Regions from separate parts of the Homo sapiens genome. Here all the other regions are linked to region 4. Evidence: promoter capture Hi-C in human tissues and cell types (Jung and others, 2019). All regions are on one chromosome and are shown on one strand. The core of a region is centred on a gene start or on the middle of the fragment in contact, and the rest is flanking DNA. Distances in the headings are between cores, read along the strand shown.

Region 1 (2,946 bases), core at 29-2,528, 200 kb before region 4:
ACTCACACGTGTGGACACAGGTGCTTAAGCAGCTCACATGCATACACATGGCAAAGGCACACACTTACACACATGTGCACACGGGTGCTTAAGCAGCTCACAGCATTAGCCAGGCTCTTAAGAAATGGTTTCAGCTTCACCAGAAGGTTTCAAACCTCAGACAATCACAAGGCAGCATGCTGTCTCTCTGTAACATTCTCCTCATGCCTCTCAGCATCAGGGAAACCGCTTCAGACAGGAAACCATGACTTGGTAAGAGATCATCTGGTGGCAGGTGCCCCTTGCTAACCAAGGCTGGTTAAGATGAACAAAAGGCATAAGAGAGCAGAACTGTCAGTGACCCCTCCGGAGGTGGACTCCTTGAGAATCCAGGTATGGTCCTTTTAGGGAGAACAGTTTAGAAGATATTCAAGCTGATACCTTAAATCTCTGGGGTACCCAGTAAAAAAGTCTAAGAATTCATAAAAGGAAGCTTCTGATGAATGCAAAATTTTGTTCAACCTTAAATAAAGCATATATATATGTAAACTATATATATAAATAAAGCATATATATAAACTTTATATACGTATATAAACTTCATATACGTATATAAAGTTATAACTTTATATACGTATATGAAGTTTATATATAACTTTATATATATGTATATAAACTCAGACCCAGTCTTCTTCTTATGAATCTGCCTGGAGAGGAAGAAAGAAGAACCATGGTTTCATATGTACCAGAGTTTGGACCCTAACGTTGCCACTTTTGTGGGCTAACACCCAGAACTATCTCCATTCTGTCACATCTAAGATGAGGAAGCCACGCTGCCCTTGTGGTGCGCGTGGAACCATGCCGCGGGGAGCACCATTGGCAGGGAGCACCAACACACAGTGCTCACAGAGGAGCGGGGAGACCAGCCTGCCTACCATCTCCATTACTTCTGCCACACAAAATCCTCCAGCCACGCTGAATTCTACCCTGGCAGGTGTCCTGCGGCTGCAACAATGCTGGAGGGAGGGTGGAGAATGTGACCCCAGGGCTCCCTCACCTTGCGCTGGGTGACATCTGGACCATGTGAAGGGCTCTGGAGGGCAGGGCAGCACCACCCACCCCTGCCACCCAATCATAAGAGTCCTTAGGTGCTGGGGCACCTCCCACCCAACGTGTCTATGCTCCATGCAGCAGTGTGCAAGACCTCCCTAAAGTGGGGCTCTCACCAAGACGGCAAAGCATTTCCTAATGCAGTGGGTCAATCGTCCGGCTCAAAGGGCAGCCTTGGAGCTGGACAGACCAGCCCAATGAAAAACAAGCACGGCCTTGTCCGCAACCAGACTGCTGGAGCTGGGGCCTGCAATTTTGGGTAGAAACACTGAGAAGAAAGACTGAAAGAAGGTCAAGGAGAGAGACGAGCATTAATGGAGGAAGAATGCTACAAGAAGGAGCAGTGAGGTCAGAGGTCACAGGCCCCAAATCGCCCAACTGGTGGGAGATGCCAACATACCTCTCTCCTTTACAGTTCACACAAGTATACCCCACAAAAGTAATAAAGATGCAGAATATATTAACAGCACAAACAACATGATAGTGCGTATGTGTGTCTGTGTGTATATAAAACCCTGTACCTGACAAGCAGAGGTAACACATTCTCCTAAGGCTCTCAGAGAACAAAACAAAAATTGATAACGTTTTAGTTCATATTGCAGGTTTCAACAAATGTTGAAAACATGGAGTCCACAGAACATATCTCCTACTCAGTAGGCAATTAAATATCATTAGCAAAAGATAACTTTACAATTCCCTTGGACAAAACACTTTTTAAATGTTTCCAGATAAGAAATAGATGAGATCAGAAAACAGACCTCAACAATAATAAAATTATTGCATGCCAAAATTTGTAGCAAACAGCTGCAACAGAACTCACAGTAAAGTTTATAGCTTTTAAAAGGAGTAAAGAAACACAAAATTAGTGAGTCACGAATCCCATTTAAAAAGTTAGAAAAAGAACAGAAAGTATCCACAGAAAGTGGAAAGGTAATAATAAAGAAAAGTTCAGAAGTTAAGCAAAGAAACAAAGGCAACTGAGAAGATCAGTAAATATAAAATTTGGTTCTTAAAGTCTAAATAATATACAACCCTCTGATGAGATTAATCAAGAAAAACAACTGCGAAGGCACAGGGGATAGTAGTCACGTAAAGGAAGCCATGCCTTCTGGTTCTGGACAGGATGGAATAGACACCTCTCTCCCTATTCTTCCTGCTGAGCACAGCCAACAACTCTGGACATTACATGTGGAACAAACAGAAGAGAACCCTGAAAGCTGGAGGGAAGAAGGGGGACTGGCTGGGCCCTTGGGATTTGGAGAATGACACAGCGGTGAGTTCGCTATTCTTTGGGTTTCTTATTTGTTTGTTCGTTTTGTTTGTGCTTCCTCCTCTATATTTCAGACAGGGCACTGGAAAAGCAACTGAAAAATGCCAAAGGATACACACTGGAAAAAAACAGTCTCAAGAAAATTCTCTCTAGGGAAAGGGATGGGAAAGGAGGAACCTATTAGGTCAGAAAGCATCTGAGAATACCTGCCCTGCTCCATGCACAGGACAGGACGCACACAGCACCCTGCCCGGTCAGAGGGGCTGAGCTGAGAGCCTCGGCTTCCACTCCCACCCAGCAGTACCAAGCACCCTTCTCCCCACCGGTGGTGTCCCCAGGATCCAGGGAGGAGCCTGGATCTCCACCCTAGCTTGCTGGTAACAAGACATCCCTTCCCCATGGTGTCAACAGAGGCCGAAACAGAAGATTGATGTAAGATTCAGACTATCATAACATAATAACCTATACTTCCAGGACACAAACAAAAATTATGTGTCGTGCCAAACATTAGGCATACCTCAACATGAAAGAGAAAAGAAAATCAACAGAGGCCAACACTGAGATAACAGAGATGCTAGAATTCCCTT
Region 2 (2,895 bases), core at 99-2,598, 180 kb after region 4:
CAGTTAAGAGCTCAGGGAACTCCAAGTAAGGTAAACTCAAAGAGACTCACACCAAGTTACATTATCATCAAACTTTCAAAAACAGAGAGAGAATCTGGAAAGCAGCAAGAGAAAAGCAACTGATCACATCCAAGGGCTTCTTAATAAGATTATCAGCAGATTTGTCACAGAAACTTTGGAAGCCAAAAGGCAGTGGACCAATATATTCAATGTACTAAAAGAAAAAAAAAACTGTTAACCAAGAGTCCTATATCCAGTAAAACTGTCCTTCAAAAGTGAGGGAGAAATTGGCATTCCCAGATAAACAAAAGCTAAGGGAGTTAATTGCCACTAGACCTGCCCTGCAGAAAATGGTCCAGGGAGTCCAGCAGGTAAAATGAAAGGACACTAGTCAATAACAGTAAGTCACATGAAGAAATGAAGATCTCAATAAAGGTAAATACATGGGCAATTATAAAAGCTGGTATTGCAACAACAGTTTGTAACTGCACTTTTTATGAATGAACCTGGAGGATATTAAACTAAAGGAAATAAGGCAGGCATAGAAGCAAATACTGCATGATCTCACATGTGGGATCTAAAAAAGTCACATTCATAGGAGCAGAGTAGAATGGTGGTTGTCAGGGGCTGAGGTCTAGGAAGGACAAATATGCGTGTGTGCCACAGATGTGGCTAGCAAGGAAGCCTCGAGGGGGGCCCAGCAGCCTGGCTCCAGACTGCTCTTCAGCATTGCAGCAGATGCAGGACAAGGAAGAGCCCTGCAGGGGGGCACCAGGAGACCAGCAGGTGTCCACCCTAATGGTGCAGGCCATCTGATAAGGGGTAGGGACTGGTGCCGGATGGACGGTGCCCATGCACAGAGTGGGGTGCAATGGGGCACAGCTGCCACCCCACTCTGTGCATAGGCAACGGGGGCCTCCTTGACTTACTGTTACTGAGTAGTGTCCTTTCATTTCGCCTGTTGGACTACTGGACCATTTCCTGCAGGGAAGGTCTAGTGGCAATTAACCCCCTTAGCTTTTGTTTATCTGGGAATGCTAACAGGGCACAGCCGAGGCCAGCCCACAGAGAAGAGGAAATGTGACTGTTGGTCGAAGGGTACAAAGTTTCAGTTATGCAGGAAAAGTAAGTTCTAGAGGTCTAATGTACACATGGTGATTACAGCTAGAATACTGTATCGCATATGGCACTTCAAACTTGAGTAGATCTTAAGTTTTCTCACCACACTCACAACGGTAACTGGTTGAAGTGATAGATGTCCACTAGCTTGACCTTAGATATATACAAAAACCCAAATATACGTAAAAGGACCTGCAGGAAGCCCTGTTTGGAGTGCTGTGCTTTTCATTCTGTCTGTGCTTAGTTCAGAATCACACAAGATCTTGTACCCACAGACAACTGCACCCAATGCACTGGGCCCTTGACACTCCAGTAGGAGTTAAATGCTGAGTCACTCTTGGTGCATCTAAGAGGCATGGAGAATTTACGAGAAGCTTAGCCAGCATCATCGAAAAAATATTTGTAGGTTGCCAAGCGGTGAGAGATAAGCATGAGTTATTTCCCAGAGTGGTCTTCTCCCTTCTTAAACCAAAGTTACATGGAAACATCAAACAAATCAAAGCATTTTAAGGAGAAGGGACATTTTCTCAAATTCTGCATTTGACTAAAGGAGCAAGAGGTAAGCACCATATAAGGACACCTGTGTGCCAGTGGCTGGCCCATGGGGTAGGGAGGAGCGATGAAGGAGCAGCCCCTCGGGGCCATCATGGTGACATGACCTTCACGTGCACTCCCGTGGCCTCCCACTGACCTCCGAATGTCCAGTGATGGGGGTGGAGGCAGAGGAAGCCCCAGCCCAGGGGCCTGTGCACCACTTTCCAAGATCACGGGACTCGTGCATTTGAGATGAGCGACTTGGCCGGCGTGTGTGTGGACCTGCCTCCCGAGCACCCCGGTGGCAGCTGTGCCCAGTTGCGCCCCACTCTGTGCACAGGCACTATCCATCCCGGCACTGGTCCCTGCCCTCATCAGATGGCCTGCACCACGAGGGTGGATGCCTGCTGGTCTCCTGGTGCTCCCCGGCTGGGAGCTTGCTTGTCCTGCATCTGCTGCGATGCTGAAGAGCGCTCTGGGGCCAGGCTGCTGGGCCCTCCTCCAGGCTCCCTCCTTGCTAGCCACACTTGCGGCACGCACACGTGTCTGTCCTTCCTAGGCCTCAGTTTCTCACCTGTAAACGGGAACAATACGCAGCTCCCAGGTCAGAGGATGCTTGCCTGTAGGACTCCTTGGAAACATCACCTGCCTCCGGTCCCAGGGGCCAGGGTTTGTGAGAGCTCAGGAGGGGTGTAGAGAGCAAAGTCCAGAGGGCCAGGCACCCGTTGCTGTTGTGGGGTGACACTCCCACAGCCCTTGTGACCTGAGCTCCATGTGTCACTCACAGAGTCCCACTGAGACAGCCCAGGGGGCTTCCTGGAGGCAGTGTCCCGGGCAGCCCAAGCCCAAGCCCCGCTCGCTCACTCTTGGCAGCTGCAGCAAGGGAGCCTCCCTACCCCACCCCGGCCCTCCCGTGTGAGGGGGCCTCACTCCCTTCCTCGTGGACCTGAGGGACAAGCCCACAACACAGCAAAACCCTCCACAGGGTCCCTGCTTGTGTGCTGACCACAGGGTTCACCCTCCCTTTGAGCGCCCCCCACGCCCCAGCACGGCTGCACTGTCCCCCACACTCTCCTCGAGGTGGGCCGGCGGGGTGGACACACAGGGCAGTGCCCAGGACGAGGTGGAGGGGGCGCTGGAGATGGAGCCGGGCAGGAGGCAGCAGGACCCCTCCAGCTCCCCTCCCCTCAGGGGCACATACTCCCTGATCCCTGGAGATGCAGCCAGGGACCTCTGTGGGCC
Region 3 (3,334 bases), core at 681-3,180, 240 kb after region 4:
TGGGGGAGGGGTGTGTGGGCAGCATGCAGACCCCTCTCTGGGCCTGCTTCCGCTTCAGCCTCCTGGCCACCCGCCTTCCACATTCCATTAGACACCTCCAAGGGGCCTTCCTGCCCCAGAGTGCTTGAGGCTGGGGCAGGCCCGGGACAGAAGAGGAACGCACAGCCCATTTGGCCAACCGTAACTTTCCCTGCTGAGGCCTGCACTGACTTTACACCCCACTCTTAGATCTCAAGATTGCATCTCACCAAAGCTCGCGTTAACAGTTTTTGTTTTTTCTATTCAAAGGCAAAAAAACCATCACCTTTTACATCTCCTCCTTGATAACGTTTCATAAGCTCGGGCTTGGGCCCCAGCGTCTTTCCTTTCCTTTGTCCCTGTGCGATTTAAAACATCCCGCCCAGGGAGCCCTGGTCTGGGCCCTGTGGGCGCTGGCGGCCCGGCTCAGAGGGCAGCTCTGCGGCCTGATTAATGGCCCCGAGTGACCCTGGGCCGCTGTGGGGATGGAGCCGCGTGAGCTCACAGCCGCTCTCCGCCCGTGTTTCACCCCCTAGAGTTCACACAGTAAATGAGGAATTGTCTACGACTCAACAAGCAGGTGTTTTCAATACATCTACTTATAAGCTAGCTACTTTTTTGAAAGGTCTATGCTACTATTTAACCTGGTGACTAAGTCGATTGGAAACAATGAAACAAATTATTACAGGAATCCAGACGACATCCCTCCCTCCCCCTTTCCTGCTTCCTCACCCGCTGTAGCAAGCAGGTGTGGAGTCGAGTCGGAGGCAGGCGCTGGCTGCGTGGACCCCCGGGTGGGATTCCACCCGCGACAAGGCACCCAGGCCCTTTGGGCGGGGCTCCCCTGGGGTCCGCGTCCCCGCCGCCTCCCCCGGGCCTCTGCTGGGCTGGCTGGAGGCAGGAGGCCCCGGTTAGCAGGTGGTGGGGAACTGGGTCCCGGGGTTGGAGGCAGGAAGGTCCCCACGGGCCCCGCGCACCGTTTGCCGCGCACGGGAAGCGGCGAGGCCGGCGGGGCAGCGGCTTCTGGGCATTGTTCTCGGACCGCGCGGCGCTCGGTTGGCATCAAAGGGGACCGCGCAACCCGACACCACGGCGGGCGCGGGGACAGAGGCCTGAGGGCGGCGGGGACAGAGGCGCACAAGGCCCGGCCCGCGGCGAGGAGCCTCAACAGGTTGGAAACGCGGAGACGACGCCCCGCGCTCCGCCGCCTTCCGCCCGCGGTCAGTCCCGGGACCCGGCGCTGCGGGGACGAGGCCGTGACGGCGACAGAGGCCGCGTCTCCCGAGACCCCGCGGCCCCGCCCCGAGCCCTCCCGGCACCGACGACCCCGCCGGCCGCGGAGGTTCGGTCCCCGCGCGGGGACTCCGGCCGCTCGCACCGCGCACCCCTCCCGGCCCGGACCCCGCGGGGAGAATGAATGGGCGGGACTCCGGCCACCCCGCCCCGCTCCGTCCGGCTCCGGCGCCTCCTGCGCGCGTGGGCAGGGCCGGGGCTGAACCCAGAGCGGCCGGGGCGGGGGTGAGGGAGCCGGGCGGGGACCCCAGCCAGGGCGGCGAGGCCGGCGGGCACCGGCGCGAACCTTCCCGTCCCGCCCGGGTCTTACCTGGCTCCGCGGAGGCCGCGCGGACCCCGAGCAGCAGGACCAGGGGCGCGAGCACGTCCAGGAGGCGCCGCCGCCGCGGCCATGGCCAGGGGCACCTGCGCGGGACAGGCACGGGTCAGACCCCGCAGGACCCCCGCGACCCCCGCAGGACCCGGCCGAGCCCCGCGACCCCCGCGACCCCCGCAGCCGCATCTTGGCGTCCCCCAACCCCTGCCCGCAGCCCCGGCCTCACCTCGGCGCCATGCTCTCCCCAGGACCGTCAGCGCCGCGGGATGCTGCCTCCTCCGCCGCGGTGCACCCGCTCGGACCGCCGCGCTGCAGCCGCCGCCGCTGGGAGGCCGGGCAGGGGGCGGGCAGGGGCCGGGCAGGGGCCGGGCAGGGGGCGGGGCGGGCGCGGGCAGGGGGCGGGCGCGGGGCGGGGCCGGGCAGGGGCCGGGCAGGGGGCGGAGCGACGAGCAGGGCAAGGCCCGGGGAGGGGAGAGGGGGGCGGGCGCCGCAGCGGACCTGCGGCTGCGAGGACGGGGCGGGCCGGGACCCGGGGGCGGCGGGGACGGGCGAGGACGGACGGGGACACGTCCCGCCCCGAGGGAACCGCCCGAGGCTGCGACCCAGCACAGGGCCCGGGGGCTGCCCCGCGAGGAAGCCCAGGTTTATGCGGAAGGTGAACACCGCTGCCCGCCGGGCTACGACCCCAGCCCCTGAGTCCGGTGGGGCAGCGGGAAGGGGGGAGATTTGAATAGAGTCACCGCGGGGGGGACGGGACGGAGGAGGAAGCCGGCACCTCCGGCCCGCAAGGCCCCTGCAGGGTCCTGCCCCGGCTGCACGGAGGGACGGACGCGAGACAGGAGGGGCGTGCGAGGGCCAGATCTGTCCCCAGGTCCCCCTGTTCCCAGGGCGCGGCCCAGCAGAGCCTCTTCCTCCCCAGTTCCCAGGCTCCTCCTCCCTCCCAGGTGAAAACCCTGTTTCTATTTCTTCAGGGCCAGCATCCTGAGCCCCACCTGCAGGCCCTGGGCGCTTTCCTCCTGGCAGCTGTGCCCCCACCCGACCGGACCGCTCCCTGCAACCAGAGAGCCCTCACACCAGCAACACCCCCCAGCCTGCTCCCTCCTCGTGTGCGCGAAACTCATGGCACTGGCTTGACGGCTTTCTCTGAAACCCTCTGATTCCGCCTGGCCCATCCACACTGTCCCTTCCCGGCCAGGGCTCATCTCCTATGCCTGGACCAAACAGCGTAGTCTCCAGTCTCCCTGATCTCCCCACACGTGGCCCCACCCATCCTCTGAAGCAGCCCCAGGAGGCAGCAGTGACTTCACACTTCTAGTGCCCGGCCCTCCCGGCCCTCCTCTCTGGGCTTGCTTGCCAGGGTCCTCCCAACCTGACTGCTGCCTCCCACCTCCTCTCCGCCCCTGGAGCTCTCCAGCCGCAGCCGCGGGGCCTGCTTGGGATTCTCCTCTGCTGGCATCATCCCTGCCTGCCTCAGCCTTCCCAGGCCCAATCCTGCCCGATCTCACCTCTTCCCGCCCAGCCACCTGGTCGGGTCCCGACCAGCATCTGCCTTCAAACCTGGAGTCCTTCCCTGAGTGCTTGCGGTGCACTGTGAGGAAGGAAATCAATGTAAAGGATTATGACCCACATTTTTTAAAAATAAAAAGATTAAGGAGAACAGCATAGAGTAGAAGTGGTCATCGCACACTTCTGCAAAACTTTTGTTTC
Region 4 (3,009 bases), core at 64-2,563:
AAATAGGTATCTCTGACACGCTTTAAGATGATGAATTATTCTTGAATATGAGGAGGACTGGGAGTTAGTTCTCTTAAATAGGGAAGCACCCTTGCACACTCCTTTGGGATCCACATCTGAGAAAGTCCAAAGAAAAGAAAAAGGGCAACAGTTTGCCCCTGAAAGTGAGTTCAATTTCAGAGGGATATGTGAGGGCCTGTGCCAGAGGAATATTTTTGAAATGGGGGGAGTCTATAAGTTGCCCAGTCTAATCTCTAAAGGCCTCTCCGCAAGGCCCTGCTGCTCAAGATTCCTTCTGGCGAATCCCACTCTACAAACACTCAACAACTAAGAGTGCTACTGGCTCACATGGAGGGCTAACAAGACCTGCAAATCCAGGCTGCTCTGAAGGACGGTGGAAGATAACCAACCCCGAGCCACGAGATTTAGGACCCGACTTTTGGTTAACTTTCAAATTTCTTATGCCAGTAATATACTTCAGAGTGGCGCGGAGGGAATTGGAAAACATCACCAGGCAAAAAAAAGAAAAAAACTCTTTCACGAAACAAGACTTCCAATTAGAACACGTGTGGGGACAATAAGAAACACGTTCTAACCACCCCCAAAATTAAAATAAAACACAGCGAGCAACAAGAGAGACCTGCGCGCGCCCCACCGCCCGCGCGCGGCTCTCCGCAGGGTCACCGAGGGGTGAGGCCGCGCTCTCCCGGCGGCCGTCCAGGGGGAGGAGGCCCCGCGCCCCGCCCCGCCGCCCTCCAGCCGCCGCGGCCGCTCCGGGGTGTTCCCCAGATCTCTTCTCAATCAAGAGATGAAATTTGTGCCGTTTTGAAACTGAAGCCTCAAGTAGTCCAGACGTTTTCTGACCCACATCCGAGACGTTCTCGGCTTCCCGCCGCAACTTCCGAATTTGGGGAGGGGGCGGAGGCGGGCGGGCCAGGCCTGGCGACCGCACCTTGAGGGAGCGCGAGTCCCCTCGCTGCCCCGGGCCGCCGCAGGCGCCGGCGGCGGTCGGGGACGGCGCGACCCAGCCCGGGACCCCCGCCCGCCCCGGCTCGGGCGAAGTTTGCCGCGGCCCGGGGTCGCCCCGTCACTCGGCCTCCGTCGGGGACTGGGTCCCCGTAACCCGCAAGGGCGCCCGACCCCGACCCCGCCCGCCACCGCTCACTCACCTGCCCTGCGCCGGACGGCGAGCCCGCGGGCCGGCGGGGAGAGGCCGGGAGGCCCGGGCGGGGTCGGGGCGAGGCGGGTGAGGAGGCGGCGGCGGAGCCTAAGTCAGCCGAAGCGGCGGCGACCGCGGCTGAGGCGGCTGAGGCGGCGGTCGCGGCTTCAGGCGCTCCAGCCCGAGCGCTGCGCGCGGCGCGGGCCCGCCCCTCTGCGCCGCTAACCAATCTAGCGCCGCGCGCCGCCGCCGGCCCCGCCCCCGCCCAAGGGCAGGCTCGCGAAAGCGGGCGCCGCGGGCCAATGAAAGGGCGGAACATCAACCGGCGCGGCCAATCCGAGCCCGGAAAGTTCTCTGGAAAAAGCCAACTCCAGTCAAAGGGGCGGGGGTGGGGCTGGGGGCGGGGCGGGGACCTGGCCCAATGACGCGCGGGGCGGGGCCGAGCATTGGGCGGGGAGGAGGCGGGGCCTCGAACGGGCGGGCCGGTCACTAGTAGTGGGCGGGGTCGTAGGCGGGACATTGAGCGGGCGGGGCAAGAATCGGGGCGGGGGCCTAATGAAGTGAAGCGGGGAGGGGACGGGCAGTGGGAGGGGCAGGTCACATTTGGGGTGGGGTGGGGGCGGGGCAGGGGCGGGGCTGAGTACGGGAGGCCAGGCCGGGGAGAGGCCTAAGTCGGGGCGGGCGGGAGAAGGGCAAGAGCAGTGGGCGGGGCTCGGGGGTTAGGGGATTAGTGCCCTTGCTGGGGCGGGGCCCAGGCTTGGGGCGGGCCTGTGGTGGGCAGGGCCGTGGATGGGCGGGGCGAGCCTTCGTGGGCGGGCCAGGCCTGTGGTGGGCGGGGCGGGCCGTTGGTGAGCGAGACCTTGGTGGACGGGGCGGATCCGCGGTGGGCGGGGATTTGGCGGGCGGGCGGGTGGGCCCGACGGGACGGGAATGGCCGTTGAATTCCCAGCCGTGCCGCAACCCCGAAGGTCCCCCTGCAGCGCCCGCTTCCCGTTCTCTGTGGGCCTGGCCCCGGCCCGGAGGCTGGGGCCGCAGCGCCCGGCGGGCAGGGGCCCCGAGCGGCTCGTGAGCCTGTGCCCAGACGCTGCCCGCCCCGCGCTGGTCCCGCCGCCCTGTCCCCTCCGCCCGCCCGGCGTTCGCGTGCCGTGGCCTGGGGCGGGGCGTTGCTGGGCCCCGGGGGCTGCAGGGGGAGGCCGCCCTTTCTCTGGGCTGGCTCCGGGCTGTTCCGCTCCGCGCCGTTTTCCCGGTACTTCCCGCGGAGCCCGCCTCGCTGTGCGTCCCCGCCCGGGCGTTTCTTCCGCGGCGCTGAGCGCCCGCCCCGGCCTCGGGCAAGGGCAGCCGGACGCCCCGAGGACCAGGGCGCTGGGGCCGAGGCGCGTCCTCCGCAGTCGCCGCGCCTGGGCCCCGTTTCCCCGCGGGTCCTCGCCGGGGTGGGAGGCGCCTCTTGGCGTCCGTGGGGAGCTGGGTGTGGGGGGCGGCAGGGCAGGAGGTGGGGGGGCTGAGCCGGAGAAACGTCCTCGCCCCGCCCGAGACCTCAGACACCCCAGAACCTCGGGCCGGCAGCCAGCTGCAGGAATCGCGCCCTAAAGCCTGGGGTCCGCGCCCGCCCGCCTCCCGCGAGCGCCAGGGGCTGCCGGGTCACCGGGATGCAGCCTCGAGGCGACGTCACAGACCCCACGCGGCCCCCCGAGCACCCCCGGAGCCGGCGCGGGGACAGGGGTTCGGGATGGACGGAACCCACGCAGGGAACGTTCCGGGCCGTCTACGCCAGGCTCAGGGCGGCCGTCAGCTGGGGTTGGAGGTGGGTCAGGAAGAGATGTGTCCTTTTGTCTCCAAATGTCGCTTGTGTC
Region 5 (3,350 bases), core at 503-3,002, 130 kb before region 4:
TCCCAGCACTTTGAGAGCTGCAGTGTGGGAAGACTGCTTAAGGCCAGGAGTTCAAGACCAGTCTGGGCAACATAGCAAGACCTTATCTCTAAAGAAAAATTTAAAAAGTTAGCCAGGAGTGGTGGTACCCATCTGTAGTCCTAGCTACTTGGGAAGCTGAGGCTGGTGGACTGCTTGACCCAGGGGTTTGAGGCTGCAGTGAGCTGTGATCATGCCACTGCACTCCAGCCTGGGTAACAGAGTGAGACCCTGTTTCTAAAAATTTTTTTAAATAAAAAAGAAGAGAGAAGAACCAAAGAAAACAAAATCAGAAATGAATAAGGAGGCATTTAAATTAAACTGATACCACAGAAATACAAAAGATCATCAGAGACTATTATAAAAAAAAAAGCTATATACTCACAAACTAGAAAACCTGGAAGAAATGGATAAACTCCTGGAAGTATACAACCTGCCAAGACTGAGTCAGGAGGAAATAAAAATCCTGAACAGACTAATAAGGAATAGTGAGACTGAATCAGTAGTAAAAGCCTCCCAATACAGAAAAGTCCAGGTCCAGGTGAATTCACAGCAGAATTCTACCAAAAGTACAAAGAAAAACTAATACTAATCCTCCAGAAACTACTCCAAAATATCAAAGAGAAGGGAAATCTTCCTAATTCATTCTACAAGGGCAGCATTACCCTGACACCAAAACCAGACAAGAATACAACAAAATAAAACTACAGGCCAATATCCCTGATGAACACAGACACAATAATGCTCAACAAAATGTTAGCAAACCAAATCCAACAGCACATCAGAAAAATAATACACCATAATCAAGTGAGATTTATACCAGGAATACAAGTATGGTTTAACATACAGAAATCAATAAACATGATATATCACATAACAGAGTGAGTGATAAAAACCATATGGCCATCTCAATAAATGCAAAAATGCATTTGATAAAATTCAACATCTCCTCATGATAAAAACTCTCAACAAACTAAGCATAGTGGTAACATACCTCAAAATAATGAAGCCATATATGACAAAGCCACAACCAACATAATACTAGAGAAAAGCTAAGAGTGTTCTCTCTAAGAATTAGAAGAAGATAAAGATACGTACTTTCACCACTCCTATTCAACATAATACTGGAAGTCCTAGCCAGAGCAGCCAGGAAAGAGAAATAAATAAAAGGAAACCAAGTTGAAAAAGAGGAAGTCAAATTGTCCTTCTTTGCTGATGATATAATTTTATCCAGAAAAAACTAAAGTCTCCACCAAAAAGACTTTTTTTTCTTTTTTTTTTTTTTGAGATGGAGTCTTGCTCTGTCGCCAGGCTGGAGTGCAGTGGCGCAATCTCGGTTCACAGGTTCAAGGGACTCTCCTGCCTCAGCCTCCCGAGTAGCTGGGATTACAGGCACGCACCACCACGCCCAGCTAATTTTTGCATTTTTTTTTAGTAGATATGGAGTTTCACCATGTTGGCCAGGATGATCTCAATCTCTTGACCTTGTGATCTGCCCACTTCAGCTTCCCAAAGTGCTAGGATTACAGGTGTGAGCCACCACGCCCGGCCCCATAAAACTTTTAGATGCGATAAATGAATTCAGTAAGTTGCAGGATACAAAATCAACATACAAAATCAGCAGCATTTCCACACACCAATAGTGATCTAGTCAAGAAAGAAATCAAGAAGACAATCACATTTACAACAGCTACACAAAATACCTAGGAATAAATTTAACCAAGGAAAGGAAAGATTTCTATAAGGAAAACTACAAAGTGCTGATGAAAGAAATTGAAGATGACACAAATGGAAAAGCATCCCATGTTCGTGGATACGAAGAATTAATATCATTAAAATGACCATATTGCCCAAAGCAATCTACAGATTCAATGCAAGCCCTATCAAAATACCAACCTCATTCACAGAATTAGAAAAAAAAATTCTAAAATCCATATGGAACCAAAAAAGGGCACAAATAGCTAAAGCAATCCTGAGCAAAAAGAACAAAGCTGGAGGCATTACATTATCTGACTTCAAAATATATAACAAGGGTACAGTAACCAGAACAGTATGGCACTTATATAAAAATAGACACAGAGGTCACTGGAGCAGAATAGAGAACCCAGAAATAAAACCACAAAGCTTCTGGTTTAATAGTCCCATTAAAAAGTGAACAAAGGACATGAATAGACATTTCTTAAAAGAAGACACACAAACAGCCAAGAAGTATGTGAAAAAATGTTCAACATAATCTTCAACAAAGCTGACAAGAACTTACACTGGGGGAAAAGGACACCCTCTTCAATAAACGGTGGTGGAAAAAATTGGATAGCCACATGCAGAAGAATAAAATTCGACCTTATCTCTCACCATACACAAAAATCAATTCAAAATGGATTAAATACTTAAAATGTAAGACCTGAAACTATAAAAATACTTAACTGTAAGACCTGAAACTATAAAAATACTTAAATGTAAGACATGGAACTATAAAAATACTAGAAGAAAACCTAGGGAAAACTCTCCCGGACATTGGTCTAGGCAAAGAATTTATGACTAAGACCGCAAAAGCATAGGCAACAAAAACAAAAATAGACAAATGGAACTATATTAAATTAAAAAGCTTCTGCACAGCAAAGAAAACAATCAGCAGAGTGAAAAGACAACCTGTTGAATAGGGAGAAAATATTTGCAAATTATTCTTCTGACAGAGGACTAACATCCAGAATATAAAGGGAACTCAATCAAAAGGGAAAAAAACAAATAGTCCCACTAAAAAGTGAACAAAGGACCTTAATAGACATTTCTTAAAAGAAGACACACAAACAGCCAAGAAGTATGTGAAAAAAATGTTCAACATAATTAATCACCAGAGAAACGCAAATCAAAACCACAATGAGATGTCATCTTGAACCATTCAGAATGGCTGTTATTAAAAATAGAATGGCCATAATAAAAAAATAACAGGTGTTGGTGAGGATGCAGGAAAAAGAAAATACTTATATATCATTGGTGGGAATGTAAACGAGTACAGCCACTATGGAAAACAGTACAGAGATTTTTCAAAAAAACTAAAAATAAAATTACCATTAAATCAAGCAATCCCACTACTGGGTATCTACCCAAAGGAAATAAAATCAGTATATCAAAGTAGTACCTGCACTCCTATGTTTATTGCAGTACTATTCACAATAATAAGATATGGAATCAACCTAAGTATTGATCAAAGGGTGAATGGATAGAGAAGATGTAGTATATATACACAAAGGAATACTATGCAGCCTTAAAAAAGAATAAAACCATGTCAGTTGCAGCAACAAGGATGGAACTCAAAGTCATTACCTTAAGTG
Region 6 (3,274 bases), core at 665-3,164, 220 kb before region 4:
TGTCCACCGAGGTCTCCACACCCATCTCCTCCCAGTGGTGGAGCTGCCCTGGCCACTGAGGAGCTGCACTGACAGCGTCCTGCAGGCTGAGGGCTGCAGCCCACATGCATGTTGACAGCATGATGGAGGAGGGTGGGGACGGCGAGAGGAGCAGGAGCAGGAGCAGCGGTCACCCCAAGCCTCACCTGCACAGTCGAGTCCCAGGGAGCAGCCACCTGCCAGGGTCCTCTGCTGACCTCGGGTCACAGTAGGGGCCCAGGCGGAAGAGAAGGAAGGAAGAGAAGGGGGAGCTGAAGATGACCCCAGGGTGCCCGAGGGGTCTGGGTGGGGTCCAGGGTGGGGCAGCCTGATGGGGGGAAGCAAAGGCCACAACCTTCATACCTTCAAGCAGCCACGACTGCAGACGCTGCCCACTGCCCAGCCAGATGCTCCCGGATTAGACCGAATCCTCCCGCAGCAGCATCCCAGCGATGTGCGCAGCTTCAATCCGCTGACGGCCTGTTAATCCCACAACCTCCCATCAGCCTGCCTCATCTAATTCATGTTTAATGGGTTTGGTTTGTTTTTATTGCATTTTAGTGTCTGCATTGGAGAAAGTTACAGATACTTGGGTGAAAGACAAGCTCTGTATTTCTACTTGCCAGAACGCACACCTTTATTCATAAACACAACCCTAAATACCGCACAGGTAAAATCCATAAAATAAACCTCCAGCTGGGGCGTCTGAATTGTTGAATTTGTTCTTAGTGAATTCCAATGGGAAGAAGTGAGTCTCGTGAGCTTTGCTGTGGCAGGATCTGAAAGAGAAGTGTCCACCGAGCTGCCCAAAGCCAACCCCACGTCCTGCGGGGCTCCTGTCAGTACCACAGGGGCAGGAAGCCCTGGCTTGGGTGAGGACGTCCGCCATGGCTCCCTTCCCTGTCTCGGCCACCCCGTCCTAACGCCTGCCTCCCGGGTTCTTCCCAGTGCTGTGGGCTGCAGTTTCCGGTGACGGGGGGACGTGCAACGGGGATGTGGACAATGTTTCTGGAAGTCTGGCCAGGAGGCGGGCCCAGGGACAGGCTCGCAGAAATGCCCGCCAGACCCGCCCAGGCTGAAGCAGGGAGCTGGGCAGGCATGGGGACCCCGAGACCCACGTGGATTCCTCAATGCGCGGGCCAGACGCCTTAAGGCTCAGTGGCGATTTAAACTGCAGAAAGTCAGACACACACATTTGTAGGTCACCCAGACCTGTGGCTTTTATTGACTGTAACAGCATCGGAATCCTTTATTTAAAAAAAAAAAAAAAAAAAAAGAACAAATAAGTCAACACAAACACCAGCGAAGCTGTTCAGGCTGAGATTCGGCGGCGCAGAGCAGGATGTGGGCCGCCTCCAGGCAGCCGGGCAGGCAGGACCCTGGGGCTCTGAAAACCGCGCAGACAGAGGAAGCCACCCTGCAACCCTGGGCACCCACACCGGGAGGTGCCCCTGTCCCTAGGCTCTCTCCTCCGAGGCACCCGCTTTGTTCTGCGTAAACACCACATTCCAGGTGTTCTGTGACTTGATTTCAAAACCCAGGCATAACCGACAGGCAGTGAAGCGCAGGAGTCTGAAGTGACGGTTTGATGTCCACTCGGCACTTGCCGTATGGCCACTAATTCCGGACGGGCCCACTGCGCCTCCGAGTGAGGTGCCAGACCCCCTGGCTGCCAGCCTCCTGTGGCCTCTTCAGCACCATCTGGCTTGCGCCTTTTTTTGTCCAGCTTTTTGACTCAAAGTAACATTTCTGAGACTCTTCCCCGCTGTGTGTGCGACGGCGCTGGGTTCCAGCTATCGCTCTTCCTCTTACCACAGAGCAGAATTCCACGGCGTGAGCCTGGTCCCGGCTGGCCCCTTCTGCTGTGGATGGCACTGGCCACCTCCAGTGTGGGGCTGAGGAAGGAAGACGCTGCGTCCAGGAGGGCGAGTCTTCTGTGGCCGCAGCCGGACTTGCTGTCCTGTGTTCATGAGAGACAGCTATCCGTCTCCACGATGGGCGCAGCCCCCAGAGCTCCTGCAGCTACAGCGAGCCTGGAGATTTCCCTTCTCTCTCTCTGATAAACAATCACGTCGCAAACACCTGGACCATGTCTGTGCACAACACAAGGGTCGGGTGGCAGATTCCTGGAAGGAGAACTGGCTGGTGGAAGGATATTTGCATGTATAACCTTCACGGCCCGCACCCTCCGCGTGCGGTGAATGCGGGTAGCAGGGGTAGCAGGTGCGCCAGGGACCCCGTAGCGGCACACCCTGCCCGCACGCCCGTGTCAGGTCCTGTATGCTGGTGACTACCATCGGGAAGTCTTTCGGGTCATCCGTATTCTGTTTCTAAGCAGCTGTACGTTCATTTCTAGGTGGTTGCTGCTTTCACGCGGATTCGTGGGGGCTCCATCGCTGTCCTGCGAGCGATGTTGCTGCTCCCACAGGCTGGCCCTGCCTCAGATCCGGCGCAGCAGCCGTTGCGTGCCCGCGTTTTGTTCCGTCCGCCGCCTTCCCTTCCACGCCTGCTCTGCCTAGGATGCCCTCCCCAAAAAGACCACGTTAAACAGCCACACACGCTTCTATGGCTGCTGTGGCGTTGCGTTCGGTGTGTGGCAGAGTACTAAACCGTGTTTTTGAATAGATACCTCAATGACCGATGTCTTTCACTGAATAGTCTTCCCATGCCCATTAATTTAAATACCACTGTTTTTTAAGCAAAACAAAACAAAGCCTCCAGTCCTGCCTGTGTTAATTACTCCTGCCGGATAATGTTCTGTTATGGGATTCCTGTTCCCTTCTTTCCTGTGTCCTTCTGACGACTGTCCCCGACCTCCGCCCTAGTACACGCATCTCCGTGACGGTGCACATGCAGACGGGGGTGGGGTGGGCAGGAGGACCACAGGGAAGGGAGGGGAGAGGAGAGGGGAGGGGGTGCTGGAGCCTCTGGCAGGGGAGAGGGTGTGAGGAGCTGGCTTCTGAACAGGCTTCACGCTCGTGTGCATCTGGGGCCAGCCTGAACACCTCAGCCTCTCTGGGATTGCTCCAGCCACCCCCGCCTCCCACCAGACCCCTCCCCAGGTCCTCTCCTCCCCTAAGGCCATCTGTGGCTGGTTCCTGCCCCAGAGACACAGACCCTTCATTTCTCCTGAGCCCCTGGAGGCCTCACAGCCTCTGCCACAACGTCCCTCCCACCCAGCCTCTGTCTTGGGTTCCTGTTAACCTTAACCATGAGCGAGCAGGACCACATTTTCTCCACAGCCCCTTCTCCTCTC

What was found. The method cuts DNA at HindIII sites, captures the fragments that hold promoters and counts their contacts. A contact is called where the count stands out against the background at its distance.
Region 1: a contact is called between a fragment that was not itself captured here and the fragment with the promoter of PCBP3 in region 4, in 5 of the 25 tissues and cell types used here (H1 embryonic stem cells, IMR-90 fibroblasts, hippocampus and 2 more).
Region 2: a contact is called between a fragment that was not itself captured here and the fragment with the promoter of PCBP3 in region 4, in 3 of the 25 tissues and cell types used here (IMR-90 fibroblasts, lymphoblastoid cells and stomach).
Region 3: a contact is called between the fragment with the promoter of COL18A1 here and the fragment with the promoter of PCBP3 in region 4, in 4 of the 25 tissues and cell types used here (heart left ventricle, hippocampus, small bowel and 1 more).
Region 5: a contact is called between a fragment that was not itself captured here and the fragment with the promoter of PCBP3 in region 4, in 5 of the 25 tissues and cell types used here (IMR-90 fibroblasts, aorta, lymphoblastoid cells and 2 more).
Region 6: a contact is called between a fragment that was not itself captured here and the fragment with the promoter of PCBP3 in region 4, in 3 of the 25 tissues and cell types used here (IMR-90 fibroblasts, heart left ventricle and liver).

The regions. Positions count from the first base shown.
Region 1 is chr21:45,842,509-45,845,454 of GRCh38, reverse strand. All of the region lies in intron 4 of PCBP3 (poly(rC) binding protein 3), which reads right to left. Among named protein-coding and RNA genes, the nearest start is that of PCBP3-AS1, 7.6 kb to the right of the region's middle. The HindIII fragment of the contact is 8,875 bases long and covers 1-2,946 here.
Region 2 is chr21:45,459,391-45,462,285 of GRCh38, reverse strand. All of the region lies in intron 2 of COL18A1 (collagen type XVIII alpha 1 chain), which reads right to left. Among named protein-coding and RNA genes, the nearest start is that of MIR6815, 17 kb to the left of the region's middle. The HindIII fragment of the contact is 3,893 bases long and covers 1-2,895 here.
Region 3 is chr21:45,403,761-45,407,094 of GRCh38, reverse strand. It overlaps COL18A1 (collagen type XVIII alpha 1 chain), which reads right to left and starts at 1,930. Exons shown (of 42, transcript NM_001379500.1): 1 at 1,854-1,930; 2 at 1,622-1,716. The coding sequence starts at 1,864. It overlaps BNAT1 (breast cancer associated ESR1 regulating natural antisense transcript 1), which reads left to right and starts at 733. Exons shown (of 2, transcript NR_183526.1): 1 at 733-928; 2 at 2,599-3,289. RefSeq lists an enhancer at 2,075-2,775. The HindIII fragment of the contact is 38,297 bases long and covers 1-3,334 here.
Region 4 is chr21:45,642,029-45,645,037 of GRCh38, reverse strand. PCBP3 (poly(rC) binding protein 3) reads right to left here and starts at 1,313. Exons shown (of 18, transcript NM_001384156.1): 1 at 1,170-1,313. RefSeq lists silencers at 659-798, 1,119-2,108. The HindIII fragment of the contact is 13,348 bases long and covers 1-3,009 here.
Region 5 is chr21:45,772,342-45,775,691 of GRCh38, reverse strand. All of the region lies in intron 4 of PCBP3 (poly(rC) binding protein 3), which reads right to left. Among named protein-coding and RNA genes, the nearest start is that of PCBP3-AS1, 62 kb to the left of the region's middle. The HindIII fragment of the contact is 3,374 bases long and covers 66-3,350 here.
Region 6 is chr21:45,866,432-45,869,705 of GRCh38, reverse strand. All of the region lies in intron 5 of PCBP3 (poly(rC) binding protein 3), which reads right to left. Among named protein-coding and RNA genes, the nearest start is that of PCBP3-AS1, 32 kb to the right of the region's middle. The HindIII fragment of the contact is 9,205 bases long and covers 1-3,274 here.